Regions from separate parts of the Homo sapiens genome. Here region 1 is linked to region 2. Evidence: promoter capture Hi-C in 16 types of primary human blood cells and fetal thymus (Javierre and others, 2016). All regions are on one chromosome and are shown on one strand. The core of a region is centred on a gene start or on the middle of the fragment in contact, and the rest is flanking DNA. Distances in the headings are between cores, read along the strand shown. Region 1 overlaps EMC2 (ER membrane protein complex subunit 2). Region 2 holds the start of OXR1 (oxidation resistance 1).

What was found. Contacts are between HindIII fragments. The CHiCAGO score rates a contact against its expected background, and 5 or more counts as called.
Region 1: a contact is called between a fragment that was not itself captured here and the fragment with the promoter of OXR1 in region 2, in 1 of 17 cell types (naive CD4 T cells). The highest score is 7.1, in naive CD4 T cells.

The regions. Positions count from the first base shown.
Region 1 is chr8:108,444,608-108,447,356 of GRCh38, reverse strand. The region is part of intron 1 of EMC2 (ER membrane protein complex subunit 2); the gene reads right to left. Among named protein-coding and RNA genes, the nearest start is that of EMC2, 2.4 kb to the right of the region's middle. The HindIII fragment of the contact is 3,715 bases long and covers 1-2,749 here.
Region 2 is chr8:106,268,858-106,271,889 of GRCh38, reverse strand. OXR1 (oxidation resistance 1) reads right to left here and starts at 1,700. Exons shown (of 17, transcript NM_001198533.2): 1 at 1,523-1,700. RefSeq lists silencers at 1,346-1,705, 1,726-1,975. The HindIII fragment of the contact is 2,469 bases long and covers 1-2,153 here.

The sequences.
Region 1 (2,749 bases), core at 199-2,698, 2.2 Mb before region 2:
CTGATTTGAAAAAGGAAAGGGTTAATTTATTTTAATGCACACAGAGCTCCAGAAGACGTATTTTTCAAACTGTGTATTACAATCCATTAATAGGGTATAAAATCGGTTCAGTGGATTTCTTCCAGCATCTGTTGGGGGTGGGGGGGCAGTGGGGGAGAATGAAACAAAATGAACAGAATGGAAGCAATACTCATTAGAATCCTTTGTAAATGCAACTTTGGTTTCAGTTTATACATACACTCAAAGATTCATGTATAGGTATACTTAATTGAGTATGAGTTAATTTGTAAAAGGTGTTTCTTATTGTGAAAAAACACTCATAGGAAAGAGAACTTTTTTTAAAGCATAACTTCTAAGAACGGCAGTCTGACACACAGTCACATATTAAAATATAATAGCTGAACACAAAACAAGAAACACTGTGTATGAAAATATAACTTACAAAACAAGCAACATTTTACCTATAAACACCTTAAGCTATACACCTTACATAGCTGACCCTGCCACACTCTTGAGTGCTGCTGTAATAAATACATTTGTAGCACTATTAACCACATACTACTTTTAGAAATGCCTTAAATACATTTATCTAAAAAAATTATTTGTAAAAATAAAACCATCTTGAAGAAAACATGTTTTCACCTTTGATAGCTCATTACCTCAAAATCACAGCATCCGAAAATCAAGTCATCTTCATTTCCTAAAAATATGGCCTCCCTTCCCAATGTTCACATTTCTGTTAATTCCACCTTCTGTTAATACTACCTGACATTCCATTTTTTAGTGCTGTTTCTGACTCCCACTGTGGGAGTTTTGTATATCTAAGTCCTGTGGATTGTTTTGAAGTATTTCGAAGTATTTCGAAGATTTACATCTTCTACTCTATTTCCACTGCTATTATCCATGCCCAGGCTTTCATCACCCCATGCTAAAATTGCTAGGATAGCTTCCAAACTGATCTCTCAACCCAAATTCAATCTGTAAATTACTACCAGATATTTCTAAAGATTTACTTCATTACAATGTAAATTCTTAAGATACCCAATGATTCCTACCTTCTTTGAGGCAGTATAGTGTATGACTGGAACTATACTTCATTATTCCACTAATATTTACTTCTTGGAGTAAATATTGGAGTTCTTCATCACTCAACTAATATTTCCTAAATGCCTATGTGCCAGGCCTGATCTGGGCACTGAGGATAAAGAAAGAAAGAAAAAGATAAAGTTCCTATATACTCATAATGCTTAGAGTATAATAGGGTAAAAAGATGAAAATCCACATAACTTCAGATAGTGAAATTATACAAATAAAACTAAAAGACCATATGATAAAGTCAGGAGATTGGGAGAAAGGAGGAGCTTTTGGAAAGGGTGGTCAGAGAAGGCTTCTCTAAAAAGGTCATTTTCAAGCTAAGAGAAGAATGATACTAAAACCTGTATCTAAGATACTAAAGAAATTATTTCAACGCTAGAAAAATGGCTTATAATCTTTTCTGACAATGTGTTAGTGTTTATTATTAATCTCATTAACAATTCATTTAGTCATCAAATAATTACTGAGCTCCGCCCCCATGTGTCAGGCTCTAGGGAAGTGACAGTGAAGAAACAGGCCTGGTCCCTTTCATCTTAGGAGAGACAAAATTTTAAAACAAAACACAATTGGGTAAGTGCTTCAATAGTATTAGAATAGAATACATAATCGAAGGATTGCAGGTGTGTTTTGTTGCTTCATTTTATTGTTTGGGTTTTTTTTTTCAATTTTGGTGGGGGATGAGGAAAGGGAAGGGGGTAGTAGAGTGGTCAAGTAAGGCTTTTTTGTAGTAGGTGAGCTTTGTGGGGAATTGATAAATGATAAAGTTTAATGGGGGCAAGAGTGAGGCAAGGAGGGAAGAACACTCCCAGTGGAAGGACTAGCATGTGCCAGCTTTAAGAAGCAGCATGGCAATTTAGGGTATTCAACAAAGGCCAGCATAGGCAGCTCACAAAGTGAGAGGGAGAAGGGCTCAAGATAAAGCTGGAGACATGGGCAACCGCCAGATCATACAGAGGAAGGACATAATCATATTAGCACTAGCTAATAGTAACACATCCTTTTATATAGTACTTAACAGTTTACAAAGCACTTTAAAATGTTTTCTTTGTTCCTACAAATTTGTGTAGTAGTTATTATTTATTATTCCAAATTAATTACATCAATCCTCTTTAGAATGACCACAGGGTAAGGTCCAATTACTCAGTTAAATCACCTTGTCTGTTGGTAGTATACAGCTACTCGTCCCTCAGGATTTTATATATGCTACTATCATCTAGGAAACCTATAATGAACATACCTTCATAATAGCATTTTCTAAAAATTATGTAATATTTAAAACATTTTTTAAAAAGCATTAAAAATAACATCCATTTATCTACGACTCAGCTTACGGAAGATACCCTGACACAAGCCTTTTAAAACTGTGTGTTTACAGGTTTGTTTTCTCCATTAGATTGTGACTTCCTTGGAAGTGGGGACTGTGTGTTGACAGAGCCAAGATTTTGCAGTAAGAAATCAACACTGTTGTTTAATATAATGGAATCCCTCAATTCAGGTATAAATACTGAGATTCACAACGTGCTAGAGGCCATAAAGTCAATAAATCATTTAATTCAGTTCAAGTACAAAGAAATTTTGCTTTATTTGTAACGGATTTACAACTTTATAATAACTGATATATTTATTCACGATAAAACAGAAAATACAACTTTCG
Region 2 (3,032 bases), core at 451-2,950:
GGGAACCCCTCTGACGGCCGGGACTCCCAGGATTCCCTTCCATAGAGGGAGTCCACGGTGGTCGCAGCCGGCGGCTGAGTCCTCCTTAGAGTGCCGAATCAGAGAAGACCCGCATCAGGTTTGGGATGTAAGTGGAGAGGGAGAGGTTAGAAAGAGGCATCATTGGATAAGCAAAGAATGCTACCCTGGGAAAAGGAGGCAGAAAAGACGTAGGGAAGTATGTTCCCCTTAATCCCTTCCCCGTGCCGCCCGTAGATCCCTGGATCTTCTTGTCACGGAGACAGGCTGCAGCCACACACGCGACCCCGGGCCGGAAACATGCACACGCGCGCGCACACACGCACACACACGCCCCGCTGCGAGTTGCACGCTGCAGACTTCTGCCTGACTTCCCGGCCAAAAACACCGCACCTCTGGGGCCAGACCACGAATTCCTGTGGCCTAGAACTGACACCACTCCCCCTACCCCCGCAATACACACATTCAGACCCTACACTGCACCCTGAGCGTGCCGGGAACCACTGAACGGAAGCCCGAGCAGCTCCCCCCGTAAACGACTACCTTCCCCACTGCCTAATGTCTATTTAAATCTCCTAAAGCTCGCCTACAGCGAGCCGAGGTGCGTCCAAGCCGGGTAGTAGACGGAGGAGGAGCCAGGGGTGAAAGTGAACCTCAGATAACAGTACTAAATCACTATTCAAGGGGCGGCACGGGGAAGCCTCCAACCCTCTCCTGAACCTTTCAGGCCCTACCAGCAGCCCAGTTCCTCCGCCCGATACTGCACAGCTCCCCCCCTCTTCACCCAAATCCCTCAGCGATTTTCCAGTCGGCCCTCCAGGCCACTTTCTACATCCATCCTTTCCCCAGCCAGTTCCCAACATGTGGCCTCGGGTACTCTAGCGGGAGACAGATTCCAGGCTGACTCCATCATGATGTGCCCCCTAGCCTTTTACTGATTCCCCAAATTATCCGAATCCACTCGCCCCTCCGGAGCCCACTGTCCCTTCCACCGGCGTCCTTTGCTCTCGTCCAAATCCGCTTTCCACGCGCCCCACTTTCCACCCATCCTCCTGCCGTTCTGTTCAAGACACGCTTGCCCTCCACTCTGCGCCCCCAACACTGCTCTCACGCTGCTCCCACTCTATCCCCCGGCGACACCCCCACTTTCCTTCTGCGGCTGTCCCTGGCCGGGCTCCCGCGCCCCAAACCCAGCCTCCCCGCCCGGTCTCCTCCCTCGCCGCCCGGTCTCCTCCCTCGCCGCGCGGTCTTTCCTTCTTCCCAAGTCCGCCCTCTGGGCCCCCGCTGGAGCTAGTTCTGCCCTCCTGCTCTGCCCGTCGTCCCCGCTCGAGCATCCCAATGGCCACCCGCTTTCAAATTGGCTAAGTGGCTCGGAGAGGCGCCAGGCACAGGGGGCAGAGGCCAGCCGGCTCTCCCGGGCGCCAGCCGCGCCTCTCGCTATCCCTCCTGGACTCCCCCGGGCGCCAAGCCCTCGCCCTAACGCCCAGCAGCCTCACAAACTTACTTGCGGGTCGCCAGGAGGGGGCTGCGGTGAGCGGCGGCGGGCCCCGCGGCGGCGAGTGCGCCCCTCTCGGCGGGGCTGGGCGGCGCGGCGCCGGCGCTGAGCTCCTGTGGCCGCGAGGTGAATGGGCTCAGCCTGACGCAGCCCAGCTCTAGCCCCGCTGCTGCCGGCGCCGCTGAGCGCTTGCAGACATGCTCAGTTTCCGGACCTGCCCGCGTGGAAGCTACCAAGAGCCGGCAGCGGCGGGGGAGACTGAGAGGAGCCGTGGGGCGCCGCGAGCCGGAGGCTACCACGCCGGGGGCGGGGGGAGGCACGCACCGCTAAAAATAGCTCCTGCGGAAGCCACGCTGGCTTAGCGCGCACCCCTCCCCGCGCGCGGCCCCTCTGGCTGGGGTTCGGGTTTCTGCTCTGGCTACCGCGGTGGGGACCCCAGCTCGCCGAGTCCTGCCAGGCGTCTGCCTGCACTAGGATCCCCATCCCGGTGGAGACGGCGCCTCCAGTTCAGGCGCCCACTCGAATAGCCTGGACTAAGCCAGAGCTGCCCCGATTTCGGGGTCCCGCCTGTCGGGCAGCTCTAATACTAGGCTCTCCCTAGAGAAGCAGAGGAAAGTTTTGTTAAAGCGATAAAAAAGCTTCTGCAAGGAAAGCTGCAAGGAAATTTGTTCAGATTTACGGAGGAAAAAAATGTTCTTCAGATGCTTTGGTTGCTGGGAAAAACAAGGAGGAAAGGAAGGCGAAGTCTGACAGCCTAGAAAGGGACCCAAGGCAGCTTGGAGCGGGCTGAAGGGGGTTCTGCAAAGAGCTTCTAAAATTCAGAATTCTTTGCAAGGCGTTTGTGACTCCTCATTCCGCAGTGTTTTGCATAATTCGTTGACACCCCACCCTGACCTTGGAGATTTTCTTGTTCCTGTCACCTGAACTGTAATTTACTTTCTCCGCATGCTGCCTTCACTCCTTCCCCCTCCAACCCGGTTTTAAATTGCAAAACGAAAAGGGCGCAAACTCTGGATGGGTAGATTCCCAGACCTGAACTGGAACCTGGCTGTTCTGTAACCCTGAGGAAAGGAGCTGGTCCTGTTGCCGAGTTCGGGATGTATCCCAGATCTCCTGTGCATCCAGCAAACACTTCAAGCGTAGGAGCCTTTCAGCCACCTCACCTGCAAATTAGCTATTTCCCGCTATTAGTGTTCACTCTATTCTACCTTAATTTCTGATCATTTATTATTATTTTTTAATTCTGTTCTTTAAAGTAAGAGGTACAGATATTTCCTGGGTCAAATTTCCGTCTTGTTTCACTCACCTCTCACAGCCACCCAATGAGAGAATCATTATTATTCCCATTTGACAGACAGGGATGTTGAAATTTAGCGACAGGAGCTCATCGCTTGTCTGGAATAATAGAGTGTTGAACCTAGGGTCGGCCAGACTAGAAACTTTCATGGTTTCCGCATAACCTATTTCCCCGAGTCAATAGCTTTACCTGAGATAAGGGATCAAGAAAATTAGATACTAT